Regions from separate parts of the Homo sapiens genome. Here all the other regions are linked to region 1. Evidence: promoter capture Hi-C in 16 types of primary human blood cells and fetal thymus (Javierre and others, 2016). All regions are on one chromosome and are shown on one strand. Each heading gives the region's core, a stretch centred on a gene start or on the middle of the fragment in contact. The rest is flanking DNA. Distances are from core to core; before and after follow the strand shown. Region 1 holds the start of FSD2 (fibronectin type III and SPRY domain containing 2). Region 2 overlaps CPEB1 (cytoplasmic polyadenylation element binding protein 1). Region 3 overlaps CPEB1 (cytoplasmic polyadenylation element binding protein 1). Region 4 overlaps BTBD1 (BTB domain containing 1). Region 5 overlaps CPEB1 (cytoplasmic polyadenylation element binding protein 1). Region 6 overlaps C15orf40 (chromosome 15 open reading frame 40). Region 7 overlaps BTBD1 (BTB domain containing 1).

The links. The method cuts DNA at HindIII sites, captures the fragments that hold promoters and counts their contacts. A CHiCAGO score of 5 or more calls a contact.
Region 2: a contact is called between a fragment that was not itself captured here and the fragment with the promoter of FSD2 in region 1, in 5 of 17 cell types (naive CD8 T cells, total CD8 T cells, naive B cells and 2 more). The highest score is 6.8, in naive CD8 T cells.
Region 3: a fragment that was not itself captured here is called in contact with the fragment with the promoter of FSD2 in region 1 in 9 of 17 cell types (total CD8 T cells, non-activated CD4 T cells, naive CD8 T cells and 6 more); the score reaches 8.0 in total CD8 T cells.
Region 4: a contact is called between a fragment that was not itself captured here and the fragment with the promoter of FSD2 in region 1, in 9 of 17 cell types (naive CD8 T cells, total CD8 T cells, non-activated CD4 T cells and 6 more). The highest score is 8.7, in naive CD8 T cells.
Region 5: a contact is called between a fragment that was not itself captured here and the fragment with the promoter of FSD2 in region 1, in 1 of 17 cell types (naive CD8 T cells). The highest score is 6.9, in naive CD8 T cells.
Region 6: a contact is called between a fragment that was not itself captured here and the fragment with the promoter of FSD2 in region 1, in 16 of 17 cell types (total B cells, naive B cells, naive CD8 T cells and 13 more). The highest score is 26.0, in total B cells.
Region 7: a contact is called between a fragment that was not itself captured here and the fragment with the promoter of FSD2 in region 1, in 10 of 17 cell types (total B cells, naive B cells, total CD8 T cells and 7 more). The highest score is 11.6, in total B cells.

Annotation. Positions count from the first base shown.
Region 1 is chr15:82,804,661-82,808,075 of GRCh38, reverse strand. FSD2 (fibronectin type III and SPRY domain containing 2) reads left to right here and starts at 2,007. Exons shown (of 13, transcript NM_001007122.4): 1 at 2,007-2,110. RefSeq lists an enhancer at 1,624-1,723. The HindIII fragment of the contact is 1,284 bases long and covers 1,390-2,673 here.
Region 2 is chr15:82,581,175-82,584,373 of GRCh38, reverse strand. The region is part of intron 3 of CPEB1 (cytoplasmic polyadenylation element binding protein 1); the gene reads left to right. Among named protein-coding and RNA genes, the nearest start is that of RPS17, 42 kb to the right of the region's middle. The HindIII fragment of the contact is 1,149 bases long and covers 806-1,954 here.
Region 3 is chr15:82,562,747-82,565,917 of GRCh38, reverse strand. The region is part of intron 4 of CPEB1 (cytoplasmic polyadenylation element binding protein 1); the gene reads left to right. Among named protein-coding and RNA genes, the nearest start is that of RPS17, 24 kb to the right of the region's middle. The HindIII fragment of the contact is 4,848 bases long and covers 1-3,171 here.
Region 4 is chr15:83,050,869-83,054,032 of GRCh38, reverse strand. The region is part of intron 2 of BTBD1 (BTB domain containing 1); the gene reads left to right. The region is part of intron 1 of LOC124903542 (a long non-coding RNA gene); the gene reads right to left. Among named protein-coding and RNA genes, the nearest start is that of BTBD1, 15 kb to the left of the region's middle. The HindIII fragment of the contact is 3,032 bases long and covers 20-3,051 here.
Region 5 is chr15:82,612,647-82,615,737 of GRCh38, reverse strand. The region is part of intron 3 of CPEB1 (cytoplasmic polyadenylation element binding protein 1); the gene reads left to right. Among named protein-coding and RNA genes, the nearest start is that of CPEB1, 33 kb to the left of the region's middle. The HindIII fragment of the contact is 1,893 bases long and covers 723-2,615 here.
Region 6 is chr15:83,006,612-83,009,580 of GRCh38, reverse strand. It overlaps C15orf40 (chromosome 15 open reading frame 40), which reads left to right. Exons shown (of 4, transcript NM_144597.3): 3 at 906-1,033. Among named protein-coding and RNA genes, the nearest start is that of C15orf40, 3.5 kb to the left of the region's middle. The HindIII fragment of the contact is 4,494 bases long and covers 1-2,969 here.
Region 7 is chr15:83,024,828-83,028,212 of GRCh38, reverse strand. All of the region lies in intron 5 of BTBD1 (BTB domain containing 1), which reads left to right. The region is part of intron 1 of LOC124903542 (a long non-coding RNA gene); the gene reads right to left. Among named protein-coding and RNA genes, the nearest start is that of C15orf40, 15 kb to the right of the region's middle. The HindIII fragment of the contact is 7,754 bases long and covers 1-3,385 here.

The DNA.
Region 1 (3,415 bases), core at 758-3,257:
GTCAGGAGTTCGAGACCAGCCTGGCCAAAATGGCCAAACCCCGTCTCTACTAAAAATACCAAAAAAAAAAAAAAAAAGAGAGAGAAAAAGAAAAGTTAGCCGGGCGTGGTGGTGCATGCCCTATAATCCCAACTACTCAGGAGGCTGAGGCATCAGAATTGCTTGAATCCAGGAGGCAGAGGTTACAGTGAGCCGAGATTGCACCACAGCATTCCAGCCTGGGCGAAACAGTGAGACTCTGCCTCAAAAAAAAAAGAAAAGAAAAAATAAAATTATCCTCTCTCTATATATTAATATATGTCTTAGTCCATTCAGGCTGCTATAACAGAATACCATTGAGTGGGTGGCTTGTAAACAACAAACATTTATTTCTCATGGTTCTGGAGGCTGGAAAGTCCAAGATTAAAGCACCAGCAGATTCAGTGTCTGGTAAGGAAGGGCTGCTTCTTGGTTCGTAGATACCTGTATTCTTACTGCATCTTCACATGGAAGAGCTCTCTGGGACCCCCAATGTAATGGCACTAATTTTATTCATGAGGGCTTGCCTTCATGACCTAATCACCTCCCAAAGGCCACATTTCCAAATACCATCACATTGGGGATTTGGTTTCAACATGGGAATTTTAGGGGAATATAAACTGTCTATAGCATATGTATATATATGTATGATGGTTAATTTTAATGTGTCAACTTGATTGGGTCACCAGGTGTTTAGTCAGACATTATTCTGGGTGTGTGTGTGTGATGGTGTTTCTGGATGAGATTAACCTTTGAGTTAGTAGACTGAGTAAAACTGGTTGCCCTCCCTCATGTGAGTGGGCCTCATCCAATCGATTGAAGGTCTGAATAGAACAAAAGCTTGAATAAGAGGGAATTCTTCCTGCCTAACTGCCTTCAAGTGGGAATATGGGTTTTTTTCCTGCCTTCCAACTCAAATGGAAACATTGGCTCTCCAGGGTCTTGAGCCTGCTGGCCTTTGGACTAGAACCACACCATTGGCTCTCCTGGATCTTCCGCTTACTAACTGCAGATCTTGGGACTTTTTGGTCTTCATAATTACATGAGTCAATTCCTTATGATAAATCTGTTTCCATATATGTATACATTCTATTGGTTCTGTTTCTCTGGACAACTCTGACTATTACACTGTGTGTGTGTGTGTGTGTGTGTGCGTGCGTGCATGTGAGAGAGAGAGAGGAGAGAGAGATTATACTGTTATGCTGGTCTGTGGGCTCAGCATCAAAGTAGGAATTTTGCAACACACCCACAGTTAACACTCACTTTTTTCCTCAACACCTAGACTCTTTCAACTTCTTAACAGAGTCAGAATTTTGGAAGAAAAGAACATTAACACTAAATTGTCATTTTATAAATTATTAAACTAAAGCTTAGAGAAATAGTCAATCATAGTCCATAAGGAATGTATTGGCTGGATAGTCCCATTTCTATGCCATACCATGGCAAGTAAAAAAAAAAAATAATAATGTTTGCTTAAGGCTTATATGGGAAGTGTGTCCTGTGCTTTGATTAGAAAAGTGCCCCCAAAATGTTTTTTAACCTTGTATGGTTCATGAGCACCTCTGAGAATCTATTGAAACCTGTGAGTTCTCTTCCCGGAAGTGATTCTATAAGGACACAGACATAATTTTGCATATAATTTTAGAAACTCATTCACTTAAAAAAAAAAAAAAGGAATCTTCTTCCTGGTCTTGCCGTGACAGTCCCCAGCCCTCTCCACATGACCAGCCATCTGAGACCCATGGTAGAGCCACAAGTCTAAAACCCCTCACAGCACAGAAAGTAACTCAGAGCACGGCATGTGACCTCTCCTGGTGACACTTGAGTAGTAAGAAGTGGCAACTCAGCCACAGCAGGTCTATATTTGGACCTTCACTCATGGCAGGCCTGTTGCTATTTGTGGCTGCAGCCAGCTCATGTTACCATCCAGCTTTGGTGCCCCACTTGCAGAACTCTGGTGTAAAATAGGCAGGGGTAGCCTGTGGGGCATGCAGAGGTCACTAGGAAGGAAAGCCTGCTGAACACAGATTCAATTTTCTAGCAGAACTCCAGGTCCTCTGAGTTAAAGGAAGCATTTATGGACGCTTAGCAGGCAAGTTTTGGGGTAGTCATATTCTTCCAATGCAAATTGTATTATTAGAAACTCAATGCTGCAATATTAATGCAATATCTTTCCTGTAGGTGGGAAGAGATATCATGGTAAATTGCAGATGTTTAAATTACAATAAATAGTGTAAATGTTTTCTGTGCCTTCTTAAAGCAAGAATTCGCATTAACTGAACATGATGTTGGGACAGGATGTGAGAGGCTCTGATGAAGGCAGACAGGGGCTGGTGATTCTTATAATGTGTCTTTAGGATATCTGTAGTGCTGGGACCCATTAGTTAGAACCATTTGGTAGAACAGTTTGGAAATATAGATGTTGAATATCATCTGGCTATACTATTGTGTTGTAAATACATTTTATTTAATCTGTGTGTACATGCTGAAAAATAATAACTTCATGCATTGATTCAAATACTAAAAAACAGCATCGTAATTATTTTTCACTTGTTATGCATACAGCCTCCTCCTATAGAAAGTTTTCAGGTTCGGGCAGTGTCTGCAAAGCTGATTTGAATCATTTCATATCACTGTAACACTTTAAGGCAAGCTTTCTTTCACTGCTGTGGCTCAGGAATTGCCAAGGGCTGCATGGAAGAGCTAAAATTATAGGCAAAGTTATGTTCCTGCCCTTATGGAATCACTTCTGGGAAGAGAATTCACAGGTTTCAGTAGATTCAGTAGATATGCCCATGATCCATAAAAGGTTAATAAACAAGCCAAGTGAGGTGGCAGATTGCATGAGCCCAGGAGTTCAAGACCAGTCTGGGCAACATAGCAAGAACCTGTCTCTAAAAAAAAAAAAAAAAAAAAATTATTGGGGGACTTTTCTAAGTAATGCACAGGGATACACCTCCCATATAAGCCTTAGACAAACATCTTTTTTATTTTTTTTAACTGCTTCCCTTGGCATAGAGGAAAGGGTATCCAGCAAAGACATTCATAATGGACTATGACTAATTGCTTTACTTCTCTAAGCTTTAGTTTCACCATTTATAAAATGACAGTTTATTGTCAACTTTCCTTTCTCCCCAAATCCTGATTTTGTTAAGAAAGAGTCTAGGTGTTGAGGGGAAAAGTGACTGTTAACTGTAGGGTGTGTTGCAAAATTCCTACTTTGACACTGAGCCAGTTTGTGTTGAGACCACTTTGTGTTGTGTGTTCGAAGGGCAAGTGCCAGCTTGAAAGCATGTGTTCTTATCTGTATTTGCACTAAGTGTTTTCCAGTCTTCTGACAGTTCAACTTGGTGTTTCACATTCCAGCTTCTGGTTGAAATAATTTCTCATGATGATT
Region 2 (3,199 bases), core at 131-2,630, 220 kb after region 1:
GGGTACATGGATAGAATTCAGGGGGTCCAATAATTTAGACAGGTAAAAACTTGTATCTTCACGTTCAGTGATGTTTAACTGAAACGTAGCTTTTTTTTTTTTTTTTTTTTTTTTTGAGACGGAGTCTCGCTGTGTCACCCAGGCTGGAGTGCAGTGGTGCGATCTCCACTCACTGCAAGCTCTGCCTGCCGGGTTCATGCCATTCTCCTGCCTCAGCTTCCTGAGTAGCTGGGACTGCAGGCGCCCACCGCCATGCCTGGCTAATTTTTTGTATTTTTAATAGAGACTGGGTTTCACATTGTTAGCCAGGATGGTTTCTGTCTCCTGACCTTGTGATCCACCTGCCTCGACCTCCCAAAGTGCTGGGATTACAGGTGTGAGCCACCAAGCCCAGCTGCATTTCTTTTAACTGTAAGTTTAGGCAACAAGTCACAATATTAGCAGGACCTAATAATTTGGTATCAATAGGATGATCAGACAATTCATATTGATTCCTTTACAGGCATTGTACATACCTTGACATTTATTTACTATTTCAATATTATTACTATTTTATATGTTTTGAAACATTTTTCTTAGAAGGTTTATTGGTTTTAGCAGACTGCCAAATGGTTCATGATACAAAAAAGGTTAACCTCTGGCATTCAGTTTTCGTATTTTGGAGTTTGTTTAAATAGGTGCCTATTTTATACACTTATAAGAAGTACCTGAAGTTAAAGCTTTTGCCTGCATCTGTGATTATTTGGACATAGGATAAATTTCTAAAAGTAGTATTTCTTTATCAAAGAATAAATCTTTTGAAGCTTTCAATGTTTTTGTCAGATTGCTCTCCAGAATGTTGTACCAATTTACCCTCTATATGGAAATACCCTGCCTTCCTGTTTTAAATAACTGGCTTTTATATTATGTAGATGCAGTCGTGATTGGCACTGTAAAGGGTCTCCAATTTGATGTACTGTTTAAGGAACTTCTGCAGACCCCAATTTGAACAGTGTAGTGTCAGGTAAAGTAATGTTTCATTGTGTTTTGGTTATACTAGTTTTACTAAAACTAGTTGTTACCTACAACCTAGATGGCATGTTGTATTCAAGGACTCTGAACCAGAGTCTTCAGGATGGCGTGCTTCAGAACTCCCCCATACCATAAGCAGTAGATTGGATGATGCTAGCCTTGAATCAGCAGTCGTCTTTTTTGCTCTCCATGGGTAAGAAGTAAAATTATCGCCTTTGAAAATAATATATGCACATAGCAGCGAAATCTTAGAAACACCCGAATGTGAAATTGACTTTCTGCTGAATAAGTAGCAGATTGTGGAGAGAGTAGTGGGGAGGGTGAGGGAGTTAGTGTTAAGAATTAAACTCCTACAGCACTTTGGGAGGCTGAGGCGGGCGGATCACAAGGTCAGGAGATCAAGACCATCCTGGTTAACATGATGAAACCCCATCTCTACTAAAAATACAAAAAATTAGCTGTCGTGGTGGCCAGTGTCTGTTGTCCGAGCTACTCAGGGAGGCTGAGGCAGGAGAATGGCGTGAACCCGGGAGGCGGAGCTTGCGGTGAGTCCAGATCACGCCACTGCACTCCAGCCGGGGCAACAGAGTGAGACTGTGTCTCAAAAAAAAAAAAAAAAAAAAAAGAACTCCTAGTATGATGGGATAGGTTTAGTACACAGTATGGGGACCTGAGTGCAGAAAAGGGATCCTTTGCTAACTTAATGATAAAACAGGTCTGAGTAGGGTTATTATGTATGAGTGTAGACCTGGGTCTAGAAAGTGTCCCATTGTGGGAGAGAGGTCAGGGGATCAGTTAGTCCCTGTATTTGAGACCAACAAATCGAGATTTGGATCTTCTGCCTTTTAGTAGCTTTGTCGCTTATGGCCATCTCTGAGCCTTGTGTGCTTTCTAGTAAAAAAAGACGGGATGGCGAGGAATTTGACAAGGTGGTCTTTAAGCTTCTTTCCTGCTTTCTTTTGTGGCTGACTTTCTTAGCTGGTGCCAGGATATTAAGGGCTTTTGTCCCAGAGATTTTTATCCTGCATGCAGTAGTTACTTGTTTGGTCTATCCTTGCTAAAGGGCCTGAATTACGCAGAACACTCCCGTTTGTAAAAAATCAAACACCAAATTAGAACTTACTTTAGTAAAATGTGGGGTATGTTGGAACGCTGTTGATACAAAGCTCATAGAATAGGAAGGAATCACTGGAAAGCTAGGGATACTGAATCTGTGGCCTCCAATTTTGTCTATTTCTGTCTTTCCTCTGCTCATTTCCCAGTGTGAGTTTCATTATCTCCTTTTGCAGAGTTGCCAGTTATGAGAAAGGGTATATGCTCACATCCTTTGGCATCATGGACAATCAGGAAATAGTTCTTTTTCCATTATATACAGTTAGAAAAATCTCAAGGAAAGATACCCAGCTAGCTTGGCTTAAGTCATACCCATACCTGGACTGGTCTCTGTAGTCATGGGAATGGGTAATTCTTGCCCAGCTTGAGTCAGATACTTACCTATGGGACCATCACTGTAACCAGTGAGGTAGAATGCTGCAAGAAGATGCCATTGTCTTTAGGACCACTTGGATGGCAATTCAACAAAAGCAATTCAACAAAAACCTGGTGTCGGGGAGATTTTTAAAAACATTGGGGATTCATGAATTAGGCAACAGCAATCTTCAAACATTTGGGTACAACCTAATTTTTAAAAAAAATGTACACCGCAATGAGATACCAGTTTACACTTGTTAGGATGGCCATTATTAAAATGTAAATTGTCGGCAAGGATATGGAGAAATTAGAACATTTGTGCATTGCTGGTGGGAATGTAAAATGGTACTGCTGCTGGGGAAAAGAGTGTGGTGCTTCCAAAAAAAATTAAACATAGTGTTACCATATGATCCAGCAATTCTCCTTCTAGGTATACACACAAAAGAATTGAAAGCGAGGACTTGAACACATATTTGTATGCTAGTGTTCATAACAGTACTATTTACAATAGTCAAAAGGTAGAAACAGGAAACAACCCAGGTGTCCATCAGTGGATGAATTGGATGGATGAACAAAATGTTGTGTACGATGCAAAATTAGGAGCTTTAAAAAGGAAACCTAGCACAGTAGTGCACACCTGTAGTCCCAGCTACTCGAGAGGGTGAGGCAAGGAAGGATCATTTGAGCCCAGGAGTTTGGGGCCAGCCTGGACAACATA
Region 3 (3,171 bases), core at 305-2,804, 240 kb after region 1:
GCTGATTTCCTGCCAGCATGTGAATGGGGATGGGTACGTCTGTTCTAGGAAGAGCACAATGTCTTACCCATTTTTAGAAGATAGGAATTTGCTGGACACTTGGACACCAGAGCTGGAGGCACTTGGTAAACCTCAGACTTTCCATGATCCCTTGTGTTCTGGAGGCCAGGAAAGAACAGAGCAAAGAGGTCAGGGCCTTGGCCGTTATTGGAGATTGACTCTAGGACTTCTCACCACCCCTCCCCCTCCTCTAATCCATCTAGGTTAATACTTGACATTTGGAATTATGAAGTTGTGTGCCCCATGATGGGGAGTGGACTTTGAGATGAGACACTGGCCTGCATTATAAGGGACCTGTCATTTCCACTGGATTTTAGTTTGTGTGGCTTAAAGAGAATGCCTTTCCAGTTAGGTATGCTCGTGGCTTTGAATATAAATGGGAACAGTCTAACGCTAGCTATTTTGCTCCTTTCCTTCTGATTCCCAGCTGGTGGAAATCGGTGCTGCGTACTCAGCAACCTTACATAGGGCAGGTATGGTCTCATGAGCTGGGAGCAAGACAGGTTTTCTTTCTTGAAATGAGGTCCCCCCACTTCCCTTTGTCTTTGCTGCTTTGCTGCTTTCTTTCCATTGTCTTTGCTGCTTTCCTTCCTTTGATCTGTAGACACTCAGAGAACTGCCTGGCCAGACCCTATAGAGGTACAATTAGGTCACTCTAGGGCATCTGACCATGGGTGGCAGTTTCCACAAAATTCACTTGTTCTGTGGGTTGAAGGAAATATCAAACCAGCTGGCAAGTTCTAGGCCTCTTGTCTTCTTGGTATCTTCTAGTCAAATTTACAGTATATCCCTTCTGATTTAATATTTGCAGGAAACTGATGCATGGAGATGCTGACATCCCACGTGTTAATTCTGGGGCACCCTGATCCTATTCTCTAGGATGGCATTGCCCCTTTCTGAGCCATCAATCCAAGTCCTTTCCCCGTTTTTCTATGTGGTTGGTATATAATTCAGTGAGACACTCTTTCTTGCTCCTGTACTTGAATGTAGGAGTGTATTGCAGTGGCCCTGAAGATCCCAGTAGAGTCTGGGGAGGGTTGATTAGGACAGAGTGATTTCCACCCTGCCCCTCCTCAAGCAGAGGAGCTTTCTTCAACCTTTTTCTCTTTGAAGAAATTGAGACTCAGGGAAGAAGTATTGTCGCAGATGTGATGCGGTGAGTCACTGGTTTTTAAACCTCTGTTTTGGCGATGGGCTGGGTAGGGATGAGTTAAGGTTTATTCCCCTAAATCTGTATTACACTCTAAGTCAACATTGTGTCCTTAGGCTGGGCGCAGTGGCTCACGCCTGTAATTCCAGCCCTTTGGGAGGCTGAGGCGGGTGGATCACAAGGTCAGGAGATCAAGACCATCCTGGCTAACACGGTGAAACCCCATCTCTGCTAAAAACACACACACACACAAAATTAGCCGGGTGTGGTGGCAGGTGCCTGTAGTCCCAGCTACTCGGGAGGCTGAGGCAGGAGAATGGCGTGAACCCGGGAGGCAGAGCTTGCAGTGAGCTGAGATCACGCCACCGCACTCCAGCCTGGGCAACAGAGCGAGACTCCGTCTCAAAAAAAAACAAAACAAAAAAACAAAAAAAACCATTGTGTCCTTAAATTGAATATCCTTGATAGAAAAGGGTAGGGCCTTAGCGTACTGGCTCTATGGAATACGTACTCTCTGTCTTTCAGTAGAATTCAGCAGTCATTGTTCACCTGCTTTTTGCCAGATGTTGAGCTAATTGCTATTGGAGTAGGATGGTAAAGATTGGTCTTGGTATGCTTGGTTGAGAAGGCACAACTTTTTACACATGTGGGCCTGCAAATATCTATGCAGATTTTTTTGAGACTTTAAAAAGCATGTTTAAAAGATTATTTCTTCTAATAGAGACTCCAAAAGTACTCAATTACTGTCTTATCCTCTGGGATCCTAGTTCCTATTACTTGTGCTTGATTTCCCTCTGCTGATTAGATAAGTTACCTTGAAAGAGGCAAAGAAAGCCAAATGGGAATTGACTTGTTTTTCTTCCTGTCATTAAAAAAAAATGGAAATAATTTCAAATTTATAGAAGTTATACAAATAAAATTATACAAAGAATATTTGTAATCCTTTTTATCCAGAACCTCCTATTGTTCGTGTTCATTTTACCCCATTTGCTTTATCATTTGCACATTCTCTCTCCATGTATCAATACATAATTGTTTTCTGAATCATTAAGAGGAGAGATAATTGGCCCAGGCACGGAGGCTCACACCTGTGACCTGAGTACTTTGGGAGGCTGAGGCAGGAGGATTGCTTGAGCCCAGGAGTTCAAGACCAGCCTGGGCAACAGAGTGAGATCCTGCCTCTACCAAAAAAAAAAAAAAAAAATTAGTCAGACATGGTGGCATGCCGCTAGCTACTTTGGAGGCTGAAGTGGGAGGTTGAGACTGCAGTGAGCTGTAATTGTGCACCTGCGCTCTAGCCTGGGTTACAGAGGGAGACCCTTGCTCAAAAAAAAAAAAAAAAAAAAAAAAGAATAGAGATGATCTTACATACATTCATATGTAACAAAACAGTTAACTTTAGTCAATTTAAAGTTGATAACACTACTTTGATTAAACTGTCATTCATATTCCAGTTTTGTCAAGTGACCCAGTAATGTCCTTAAATCCTTAATAACATTTTTCTCTTTCTGCTCTAAGTAGGCCCTTGCTCCTTTTGGTTTTGCTCCGTGTGAGCTTACAAAGTCCCTTGGGTTGTCTTGAATGTTTTTCACAGTGATCAGCTTGTTCTAGCCATCACTTTTCCTGAAACTATGATAATCCTTACCATTCTTTTTTTATATTCTTATTTGTTCATGGTTACTGTGTCTGTCTTGCCTCTCTGTGTTGTCCTCCACTCCCACCCAGTGTTTTCAGAGAGAAGGAACTCTTAAGTAAATGTCCTATATAGCCTTGTTGATTTCTTTATCTGATGCCTTTTTTTTCTCTTAAGTATTTACCATTTTAGTGTGAGAACTGTATTTAAATTATAACCTCCAGTCTTTTTTTTTTTTTTGAGACAGGATTTTGCCCTGTTGCCCAGTCTGGAGTGCAGTGGCACGATCATGGCCCACTGCAGCCTCAACCTCTTAGGCTCAAGTGAT
Region 4 (3,164 bases), core at 286-2,785, 250 kb before region 1:
AAGATGAAAAATGGAAGCTTACAGAAGTTAACGTCTTATTACACTAGACAGCAGTGGGTAAAACTAAGGTCTCACCTAAAATCGATAGTTGTGAAGGTTTAGTGATACTGATAATAGCAGAATGTACTGGGAGCTGATTGTATGCCAGGCACCTTTCTCAGCACTTTGTGTACATTAATTCATTTAATCCTCACAATAACTTTATGAGGTGTAGGTTTTCAAAGTAAAGGTTTTCTTATTATCACCATTTTTAAGTAAGGAAATTGAGGCACAGAGAGGTGAAGTAACTTGACCAAAGTCATATAACTAATAAGTGATATCTCCGTATTTTTTCCTCTTTTGAATTTGTCATTAAAATCTAATAAATAAGTTGATATTCATAAGATTCTTTATTGTCCAAGGAGTTTTAATGCATGTAGAGACGATCACTTAACTACTTTTATTTTAAAGGTGAGATATAAATTCAGAAACCAATAAACTAAACTTTGGCAATTAAAATGCAGATACTGGTTCAGTAGGACCAGAATAGGGCCTCAGAGTACATTTCTAACAGGCATTCAGATGACACCAGTGTTTCTGGAGTACATGTTGGGTAGCAAGGATTAACAGGTGTCACTATGAGAAAAAAAAAACTTTTCAGTATCTTATTGGTCTGAGATTCCAGTATTACATTTTTCACTGGTGGGGTCATGTGAATTAGCCCATAAATTGTCATGTGAAACTTCTTGTTCCTGCTAAGTGAGTCATTTGAACTGAGCATGTTCATTTACTTAAGAGGGCCTTTGCCAGCTTCTCTCTAAAGCAAAGTGCCAGTATACTGTACCAGCATGATTTATAGAGGGAAAAACACTTTTTATGAAGTGTTATCAAAGAGAATGCCAAAGTCAAAGTCCGTTTTGAGAAAATTTATTTTACCCTAAATAGCAGCAGTAGATTCCATAGGAAATTTGATATTGCCTGTGTAAGGAGTGACAGACATTTGCTACCCTGAATAAGATAATTTTTATAGAAAATTGTTTTTCCTAGAGTGAAAGATCAATTTTTATATGAACACCAACTAAAAATATAGTTGAGTTGGCCAATTAAAATGTCTTTTGAGGCTGGGAGTGGTGGCTCACACCTCCCAGCACTTTGGAAGGCGAAGGTGGGCAGATCACGGGGTCAGGAGATCGAGACCATCCTGGCTAACACAGTGAAACCCCGTCTCTACTAAAAAAAAAAAAAAAAAAAAAAAATTAGCCGGGCGAGGTGGTGGGCGCCTGTAGTCCCAGCTACTCGGGAGGCTGAGGCAGTAGAATGGTGTGAACCCGGGAGGCAGAGCTTGCAATGAGCCGAGATCACGCCACTGCACTCCAGCCTGGGCGACAGAGCGAGACTCCATCTCAAAAAAAAAAAAAAAAATCTGTTGATATTAGAATTTCACTTTATAAAAATGTACTACTTCATAACTTGAAAATGTATAACTGTGATCCTAGACTAGATGCCGTAGTAGAAGGAAAAATGTTATTAAAAAACGTTGGGGCAAGTGACAAAACTGAAATACAGCCAGTGGATTAGGTAAAGATATTGTATTGATGTTAAATTTATCAAAATTAATTACTATGATTATGTAAGAGAATATCCTTAATCTTAGGAAATTTAAGAGTAAAAGCCCTTCAAACCTGATGGCTCACACCAAAAATCCCAGCACTTTGGGAGGCCGAGGTGGGTGGATTGCTTGAGCCCAGAAGTTGGAGACCAGCCTGCACAACATGGTGAAACCTTGTCTCTATTAAAAAATACAAAAACCAAGCACGGTGGCCCATGCTTGTAATCCCAACACTTTGGGCAGGTGGATCGCTTGAGGTCAGGAGTTGGAGACCAGCCTGGCCAACATGGCGAAACCCTGTCTCTATTAAAAATTCAAAGATTAGGTGGGTGTGGTGGCAGGCGCCTGTGGTCCCAGCTACTCAGGAGGCTGAGGCAGGTGAATCCCTTGAACCTGGGAGGTAGAGGTTGCAGTAAGCCGAGATTGTGCCACTGCACTCCAGCCTAGGTGACAGTGAGACCTTGTCACTAAAAAAGAGAGTAAAAGGCCATGATGTGTGCAACTTACTCTCAAATAGTTTAGTCTCTCCTCCCAGATAGATGTGTGTGTGTGTGTGTGTGTGTGTGTATATATATGGAAAAAAAATTAATAAATGAGGCAAAATGTTAAATAATATTTAGATAAATCTGGATAAAGGGTATATGGGTTTTCATTGCACTATCTTTTCAACTTTTCTATAAATTTGAAATTCCAAAGTATTTGTGTGTCTAAACAAAAAAGGTGCAGTTAAAAAAAAATAAGGAAATTCCAAATGAAAAATAGTTTGAGGGAAAATTGCATGAGATAGATTTAATATTTATTAATACAAATTTTTTATTTAGTGCTAAAATTTATTTAAAATTTGACAAAGCAAATTATTGTAAACAGGCTCAGTGTATAATCTAGGAAGTGCATTTTCAAACATTCGAGTATTCTATACATATTTTATGTTATATGTAAATGTTTTAAACTTAAAATATATATATATATAATTTTTAAAATATACTTAAATTTAAAAAATTTAAAGCCAGTGTGTTTAATGTTTTCTTTTCTCCCCCATAAAACACATGATAATTGTTTAGATATTTATCAGTTGTTCAGTAGTATCTGAATTATTGAATACTTTAAAATGAATTTTACTTTAAAATTAAATGAAGAGTCATCATCATGCCAAATAATTAGTGTCATTTATGATATGGTTAACTAATTGGCAGTATTCTCAGAAAGTTTCTGCCCAAGCCAACATAATACCTTTGGGCATTTAGTGTTTGCCCATCCTCTAAAATGTGAAGAGAACTAACCCCAGGCCAGAATGAAAGGTTGGTCATTGGCATGCCTATCATCATACCTCCTTTTTCAGTGTTTCAGCTTTTTAAAAATCTTGCTTGAGTTTAACTTGGACTCCCCCTGCTTATAAACTGTTTTTTTTTTTTTTGTGGGGGAGGGTTATAACATATGTATTGATAAAGCACATATTGTAAGCTTGACTTCTAACATCTTAAAGCCAAAATTAGTTCTTCTGGAATTCTACAGTACATATTCTTGCTCATTATATATTCTGGCTTTTTTGCTCATCATTAGGTTTGTGTGGTTCATT
Region 5 (3,091 bases), core at 420-2,919, 190 kb after region 1:
TTCATGAGTTTTCAGTCACATTCCATGTAGACTCTAGATGTTGTCATACTTCAAAATTCCAGTTGATATAGCTGTAAATCCAACTTGATTTTGTTTTCTTTATATTATAAAATATTTTCTGAAGTTAAAATAATACGTGTAGCATATATGATCTGGCATCAACCCAGAGTAAGTTTCTAGAATTGTGTCCCAGGGTTCTTTCCCTTTATGCCATTCTGTCTGCTGTTTCTTGACATTCCATGCATATTATATAATTAAAATCACTGACAGATGAAGTTGTGCAATGAATGCTCTTCTGCTACATAGTTGACAACTAAATTGACTGTCTTCCTAGAAAAAATTATTTTATTCAAAGTTGGCTTGGTTGTCACTTCAGAAACTTTATAACACTGTCCTGCCTCCAATGTTCTGTAGTCTGTCAATCTGTGAGATGAAGCAAGGTCCTTCTTGGCTCTTCGTGTTTATTTGTGGATCCATCATGTGGTGGTGTAAACATATACATTCTTAAAATGGGAGGATAGGGTACAGTTTTGAAAAAACATTGTCCGTTTCATAATAAACCCAAACAAAGATAGGGTACAGGCTCTGAATGCAGATGACCTGAGAACAAATTCTGGTCGTGCTACTTACTTGCTGTGACCTTGGCTTACACTCTGAGTTTAAATTTCCTCTTTAGACACATAGGTAGAAATAGTACCCATTTGTAGGGGTTTTGTGAAGCTTAAATAAGATTTGTATTGAATACTATCTACAATGATGCACATAACTGCACTTACTAAATGGTGATAGTGATTGTGATAGTGTGGGTATATAAAGATGCAGTTGTGAGAGCGTTGGCTGAGGTCATATATATATATACACACACACACACACACACACACACACACACTTATATTTTAAAGAGTTGAACTAGGTTTTCTGTTTATACTGTAAGTCTCTTGAAGAATGTGTAAGGACTAGGTCTTAAATATCCTTGGGTTTCGTTTCGTTTCTTTCTTTCTTTTTTTTAAAGATCTTTTGAAATCCTTGGATTTCTAATCCTCAGTATTGGGCCTGGTGCATGTTAGGTAACATTATACAATTGCTTAATGAATACATTCTCTCAAACTGGGTGCCTAAGCTGAAAAAGGCCCTCATTTTGTGTTCAAATTGTACTCCCCCCCACATTTGGTACTGATAATATCTAGGAATTTACTTGCAGTTTTGTGTGTATGTATGTGTTCACAATCAGTATTTATTTAGACTTCAGTAATTTTTAGTGATTACTTAGATTATCATTGTGTTTTGTTTAATTCTTGGACTAGTTTGATGGACTTTTCCAAATTGTTAAACATAGAATATATGGAAACTTGCATAAAACACCTGTATATTTTAATCAGTTATACAGCAGACACCCACATAACCACTACCCAGGTCAAGAAATAGAATATTACAGCTGGGTGCAGTGGCTCGTGCCTGTAATCCCAGCACTTTGGGAGGTTAAGGTGAGAGGGTCACTTGAGCCCAGGAGTTCGAGGCTTCAGTGAGCTGTGATAATGCTGCTGCACTCCAGCCTGGGAGCAAGACCCATATTTTTATGTGGTTAGGAGTGACGAAGAGGACGCTGGGAGCCTCCCGAGGAGGCCAGTCCCTTTCCAGCAGCCCCTGGGGCCGTCCCAGGGTAGGGAGTCTTAGAGCCCCAGGGTCCCACCCAGGGTGTGTGTCTCTCTCCCGGTGGGCTTCCCCAGGCATCAGCAAGGCCACTGCTTGGCGGAGGCTTGCCGGCAGGGACTCAGAAGCAGCGAGGCTGAAGAGGATCCTGGGAGCCTCCCAAGGAGGCCAGTCCCTTCCTGGCAGCCTCCCGGGCTGTCCCAGGGGGGCATTGAGGGGGGAGCGGGGCGGGGTGGTAGAGTTCCAGGCTCCCATCCAGGGTGAGTGTCTCTCTCCCCGGGGGGAGCTTGTTTCCAGTCTTAGGGGAGGGGTTGTGAGTGAACTTCTTAGCATTTCTCCTTTAAATATGCTGAAGTTGTGAATGTTTTTTATCTGATTAAGAAAGTTCTTTTCAGACTTTGCCAAGAGGCTTTTAAAAAAAGAAAATCTGCAGGATGCAGTGGCTCATGTCTATAATCCCAGCACTTGGGGAGGTTGAGGTGGTTAGAGACCAGCCTGGGCAATGTAGTGAAACCCCATCTGTACAAAAGTATGAAAAGCCGGGTGTGGTGGCACGTACCTGTAGTCCCAGTTACTTGGGGCTGAGGTGGGAGGATCGCTTGAGCTCAGGAGGTGGAGATTGCAGTGAGCCAAGATCGTGCCGCTGCACTCCAGCCTGGGTGACACAGCCAGACACTGTCTCCAAAAAAACAAAACAAAACAAAAAAACCCCCAAGAAAACAAACATAAAATCATGAATGTTATTAAATTATATCAGCTTTTCTGCATCTATTCATTTAACCTTTCTCCTTTATTCTATAGATGTAGGAATAACATTCAGGAAAGAATACCAAAGTAAAGCCAACTTCGCATTCCTGGAATTAACTCAAGTTGTTCATAATATATTTTATTTAGTATATTGTTTGGATTTCATTTGTAAATGTTGTCTTCAGGATTTTTGTATTCATGCACATAAGAGATAAGCTTGTAATTTTCTTTCCTTAAAATATCCCTGGTGTCAGAGTCGTTAGCTTCTTGAAGCAAATCATTAGCTTCTTGAAAAGTTTTTTTTTTTCCTCGCTGTTCTTGAGAAGAGCTTGTGTGAAATTTATAATAGTCTTCCTTAAATTTTGATATAATTCATTGCTGAAGCCACTTGGGCCTGGAGTGTGTTTTTGTTTGTTTTTGTTTTTTTGAGGAACAGTTTTTAAAATGTGGATTCAGTTTTTTGTTTGTTTGTTTTGTTTGTTTGTTTGTTTGTTTGTTCTTTTTTTTGAGACAGAGTCTCACTATGTTGCCCAGGCTGGAGTGCAGTGGTGCAGTCTTGGCTTACTGCAACCTCCGCCCCCCAGGTTCAAGCGATTCTCCTGCCTCAGCCTCCTGAGTAGCTGGGATTACAGGCGCCTGCCACCTGCCCAGCTAATTTTTGTATTTTTAATAGAGATGGGGTTTCACCATCTTG
Region 6 (2,969 bases), core at 424-2,923, 200 kb before region 1:
AAAAAAAGTTCAAAAACCATTGCTCTAAATTCTTTTGAAGGTCTTTTTCACCTCTAAAGCTCTGTATTTCAAACCATTTTTAGATTTTGAAAGGAAAACCACAACATTGACGTGCTAGACCTGGTTTATGCTGATGACCAAGTTAACTTAGCCATACCCTCCTTGGCCAGCATTTTCTAAGTAGTGGGTGTGGACACTGTCTACGTTGGAGTATTATGTTTCATTAGATCTAAAATGGGAGGCTGGATGCCATGGCTCATTTGTAAAATGGAGATAATAATGGTACTAATATCTTCATAAAGTTATTATAAGGATTAAAGAAGTTAGTATTTGTAAAGCCTTTAACACATTTGTGTGTGCTTAAAATTGGTGTATAGTAAGTGCTCTGTAAATATTTGTTAAGTAAACATTATTAAATTTTAAAAACACTCAAGATATGTGTCACATAAGAGGTGAACCTAGTCCGGGGCTCTCATTTTCCTGTTGAGGAAACCCTGCACAACCTTGTACAATCTAGTAAGCTGCCCTGTCCATACACTTCTTCAGTGACATTGATGAGGCTGAAGGCCATCTATGACTCCCTGCCTGGGGCTCTTCACATACCAAGGGCAATTTCCAGTTGCCTAAATCCAGGATATTCCCCAGGGCTCTGTAAGCCCATCTTGGTCGGCAAGATTGGGTCAATAACTTTTCTTCTCTGGATTTATTTCCTGTAATGGTAGGGCCATTTTTATCATGTTCATGTTCCTTAAATGTGATTAGTTTAATCATTCATTTCTTCATTCAACAGTTTTTAATTGAAAATCTGTGTGCCAGGCAAATGCAAAAACTCTTTTACAAAATGTCCTTGCTTCATGAAGAAAAAGAACTCCTTAAGGATAAAGTCCACACTATTTTCATTCCAGATTTGACAGCAGAGGCTGTAAATGTAGCTATTGCAGCACCTCCATCAGAGGGAGAGGCTAATGCTGAGCTCTGTCGGTATCTTTCCAAGGTCCTAGAACTCAGGAAGAGTGATGTGGTTTTGGATAAGGTAGGTCTCGCTCTCTTTTTTTTTTTTTTGAGACAAAATCTTGCTCTGTCGCCCAAGCTGGAGTGCAGTGGCGTAGTCTTGGCTCACTGCAACCTCCACCTCCTGGGTTCAAGCTATTCTCCTGCCTCAGCTTCCTGAGTAGCTGGGATTATAGGCGCATGCCACCATGCCTGGCTAATTTTTGTATTTTTAATAGAGACGGAGTTTCACCATGTTGGTCAGGCTGGTCTTGAACTCCTGACCTCAAATGATCCACCTGCCTTCTCCTCCCGAAGCGCTGGGATTAGAGGTATGAGCCACCATGCCCGGAGGTCTCTCTCTTTTTAAACTTCTTTAATTATTTTCTTTTTTTTTTTGAGACGGAGTCTCGCTCTGTTGTCCAGCCTGGAGTGCAGTGGTGCAATCTTGACGCACTGCTACCTCTCACTCCTGGATTCAAGCGATTCTCCTGCCTCAGCCTCCTGAGTAGTTGGGATTACAGGCACCCACCACCAGGCCCACCTAATTTTTGTATTTGTAGTAGAGACAGGGTTTCACCATGTTGGACAGGCTGGTCTTGAACGCCTGACCTCAGGTGATTCACCCACCCCGGCCTCCCAAAGTGCTGGGATTACAGGCGTGAGCCACTGCGCCTGGCCTTATTTTATTTCTTTTTTGAGATGGAGTCTTGCTCTGTTGCCCAGGCTGGAATGCAGTGGCGTGATCTTGGCTCACTGCAACCTCTGCCTCCCAGGTTCAAGTGATTCTTCAGCCTCAGGCCTCCCAAGTAGCTGGGATTACAGGTGCCCACCACCACACCCAGCTAATTTTTGTATTTTTAGTAGAGACGGGGTTTCATCATGTTGGCCAGGCTGGTCTTGAACTCCTGACCTCAACTGATCTGCCCACCTCAGCCTCCCAAAGTGCTGGGATTACAAACGTGAACCACCATGCCCAGCCATGTTTGATTATTACATATTAATGATGATTCATAAAATACTGATTTTTCTTTGTCTTTTTCAAATAATTGGGAAACTAGTTGTTTATAACTTTTATATTTACTTAATTGCATAAATCTGTCAATTCTTCCTATTTAGTCTCCTTCATGCCTGCTGCCTTAATCCTTACTGAGACTATCCACACTGTGTGCCTATGCTTCTTCACTGCCGCTGTTGCCAGTGTTTTCTCCTTTCTGAATTCATTCCTGAACCTGCTGTCAGATTAATCTTGCTTAGCTCTCTCATCCTTTAAGTCATCACCACGCTAAACAATCTAAAGCAATTCCTATTGTTAGTCATCTCCATGAGGGACTCCGTCAAGTACTTTGTCCTTGCTTGCTAGGAGAAGCTCATTGGGAAGATAGAAGGTTCATATGATGTCATTAATATGGTTTTGCACTAGGGGTGGAGATCAAAGTCACCTGGGAATGATTTCTAAATACAGATCCCTGGGTATCACTCTAGGCTTCTTGAAATAGAATCTGCAGGAGGGGGGCCCAGCCATGTTTATATTTCTTAAAGCTCTGCTTGTTTTCCAGTGCTATACTATATAGCTCCTATCCAGGTTCCAGCTGGCATTCACAGTCATTGATTAACAGACTGCACCTAAAAATCCATTTGAATGCTCCCCACCTGTGGCAGGTCATTTCTGATTTTTGGCTAGTGCTCATGCGCTGACGTTTGCCTGAAAGATGTTCCTCATTCTTCTGCCTGTTCAAATTCCACTCATCTAAATAAACCCCTTCTCAAATTTTATCTTCTTTAAAGGCTGTGTTTGAAAACAAATCCTTTCTTTTTCTTTTGGGACGGTGTTTTCGCTCTTGTTGCCCAGGCTAGGGTGCGATGGCGCAATCTCGGCTCACTGCAACATCCGCCCCGCGCCCCGCCCCTCCCCGGTTCAAGTGATTCTCCTGCTTCAGCCTCCCGAGTAGCTGGGATTGGAGGCGCGCGCCAACACG
Region 7 (3,385 bases), core at 55-2,554, 220 kb before region 1:
TGATAAACTATTGAAACCTCAAGATAGAGATATCCTTGCTGTTTAAAGCAGTGTTATTATAATTCTGATTGATTATTTGCTAATGGCATTATGTACATTAGTAGTTCACAACTCTATCAAACCCAGTTCTCTCTTTTTTTAATAAATATTTTGTAATTCCCACTTTACTAACCTGAAATAAAATTCATAGATAATATGCTTTATACATTTTTTAATTGATAAGTGATCTAGTTATAATATAAAGGGGAATAAATGTAATTGATAGTAAAATATGTAGTTCAATACATAGACTTTGGGCAGGACAACACTGGAAGGCAAACTGAAGTAGTTAGTTGCTGTACATATATGCATCACCATGATGAGACAGTTTCAGCTGCACAGTACAGGCGTGTTATGTCTTAAATATCATGAGCAGCATTGCTGCCACTTACGTTTTCTTTAAAGGTTCCAGGTAAAAGAGTATATATAGTTGGTCCTACTCATAGTGTCTATTTCTGAACTTGCCTACTGGCTGAAATTTATCTGTAACCTGTAAAGTCAATATTCGGGGCACTTTCTTAATCGTTTTCAGCAAAGACTTTAGTTGCCAGACCAGCACGTTTCCAGCTGTGGCTGAACAAGGCAAGGCTCTACTTTCCTGGTTCAGCTCTCCTACAGAGGTGGAGAAGGGGAGGGGCAGTGCAGTGGAGTGCAAGAAACTCTGGCTCTTGGGCAGGTTGAATGGGGCTTGAAGGCCAGCTCTGGCACCTCTTAGTGGGGCAGCCTCAGACAAGTCACTTAACACTTCCAAACTCTGTTTTCTCTTTTGTGGAATAAAGAAAATAGAATATACTAGGACGAGGTGTTTGTTTGTTTGTTTTGAGATAGAGTTTCGCTCTTGTTGCCCAGGCTGGAGTGCAGTGGTGCGATCCCGGCTCACTGCAACGTCCACCTCCCAGGTTCAAGCGATTCTCCTGCCTCAGGCTCCCAGGTAGCTGGGATTACAGGCATGTGCCACCACACCTGGCTAATTTTGTATTTTTAATAGAGACGGGGTTTCACCATGTTGGCCAGGCTGGTCCCGAACTCCTGACCTCAGGTGATTCACCAGCATTGGCCTCCCAAAGTGCTGGGTTACAGGTGTGACCCACCACGCCTGGCTGGATGAATTGTTTTTAGGACTTAAGATTATAATCTATGCGAGGCGTGTATATGTGTGTATATGTAGACATACATACATACACACACACACACACACACACACGTATTTCCCCTAGGAGCAGTGGTTTAGTATTTGCTAATTCTGTATATTAAATATAACTTCCACAGATAATGAGAATTGACTGTATATTCCTTCTGTTTATATGGTAGTTGCCTCTTGTAAAAGTCTGAATATTAAAATTGCACTAAAAGGCTGGGCACAGTGGCTCATGCCTGTAATCCCCACACTTTGGGAGGCCGAGGCGGGCGGATCACCTCAGGTCGGGAGCTCGAGACCAGTCTGACCAACATGGAGAAACCCCGTCTCTACTAAAAATACAAAATTAGCCAGGTGTGGGGGCACATGCCTGTAATACCAGCTACTTGGGAGGCTGAGGCAGGAGAATTGCTTGAACCTGGGAGGTGGAGGTTGTGGTGAGCCAATATTGCACCATTGCACTCCAGCCTGGGCAACAAGAGCAAAACTCCGTCTCAAAAAAAAAAAAAAAAAAAAAAGCACTAAAAAATCTGGTTTATAAACAAAATGGAATGAGGTTCAAGGCTTGTAGTTATAAACAGATTTTTTACCTACATGAATTCTGGCAAGACACTTAAAAGTTGATTGAGTTATGGGAGACTGTTCTGTGCATTTCAGGAAATCCAGTTTCCCTAGTTCCTTGCCAGTAGTGCCCCCCTAAACCTTTGTGAAATCGAGTATGCCTCCTTGGGGGTGGAACTCGTTTTGAGAACAACTGGTCCACCTAGGTAACCTCAGTATCAAGCTAAAAAACTACTAGAACCAATAAAAGAGAATAGTGGCCACTTATAAAAAGTATATTTAAAAACCATTGGTGTTCCTGTATGTCATCAAAATTCAGTTACAGAGATGAATAATGGTGACAGTTGTACAATGATATGAATGTATTTAGTGCCATTGAACTGTACACTTAAAAATGGTTAAAATGGGCCAGGCGTGGTGGCTCATGCCTGTAATCCCAGCACTTTGGGAGGCTGAGGCGGGCGGATCACAAGGTCAAGAGATCGAGACCATCCTGGCTAACACGGTGAAACCCCGTCTCTACTAAGAATACAAAAAATTAGCCGGGCGTGGTGGTGGGCACCTGTAGTCCCAGCTACTCGGGAGGCTGAGACAGGAGAATTGCGTGAACCCGGGAGGCGGAGCTGGCAGTGAGCCAAGACCACGCCACTGCACTCCAGGCTGGGTGACAGAGTGAGACTCCATCTCAAAAAAAAAGAAAAAATGGTTAAAATGGTACATAACTTTACCACAAAAAAATTATAATGTAAAAGAATTTAGTTATAATTGAGTAAATATCATTAAATATTTTGAGTATTATGTTACTATTACAATATGTTACTGTATTGTAGTAATTTTATATATCACTATATATGTTGAATATTACTGTAGTATTGTGAATAATCCCATTCATAACAGTAACATAATATTAAGTAGTAGGATTAAACCCAGTAAGAACTATAAAGTACATTAGCTTTATGAAGAACTGGAAAAGTTTGAGTAGAATCAGACTTTAATAAGGACAGTGTCTTCCAAATTAACCTATGTATGTTAGAGAATTTCTTTCAGAAGTCACATACTATTTTAAGGTAGTGGAGAATGGCTTGGCAAAATTCTTTTTTTTTTTTTTTTTTTTTTTGTGATGGAGTCTTGTTTTGTTGCCCAGGCTGGAGTGCAATGGTGAGATCTGGGCTCACTGCAACCTCCGCCTCCTGAGTTCAAGTAATTATTCTCCCTGCCTCAGCCTCCCGAGTAGCTGGGATTACAGGCGTCTGCCACCATGCCTGGCTAGTTTTTGTATTTTTAATAGAGACTGGGTTTCACCATGTTGGTCAGGCTGGTCATGAACTCCTGACCTCAGGTGATCTGCCCACCTCCAGCCTCTCAAAGTACTGGGATTACAGGTGTGAGCAACCACACCCGGCTGGCAAAATTCTTAACAGTTAATTTGGAAGAGTATATGTTTCTCTTTTAATAAGAGTAATACAGATGACAAGACAAAGTATTGTAAAGCTATAGGAAGTTAGTGTTGTATGGAACAGACTATAGATGTCAGAAACTAACCTAACATAAATGAACATTTAGAAAATGATATGGCCAGGTGTACTGGCTCACGCCTGTAATCCCAGCACTTTGGGAGGCTGAAGTGGGTGGCTCACTTGAGCCCAG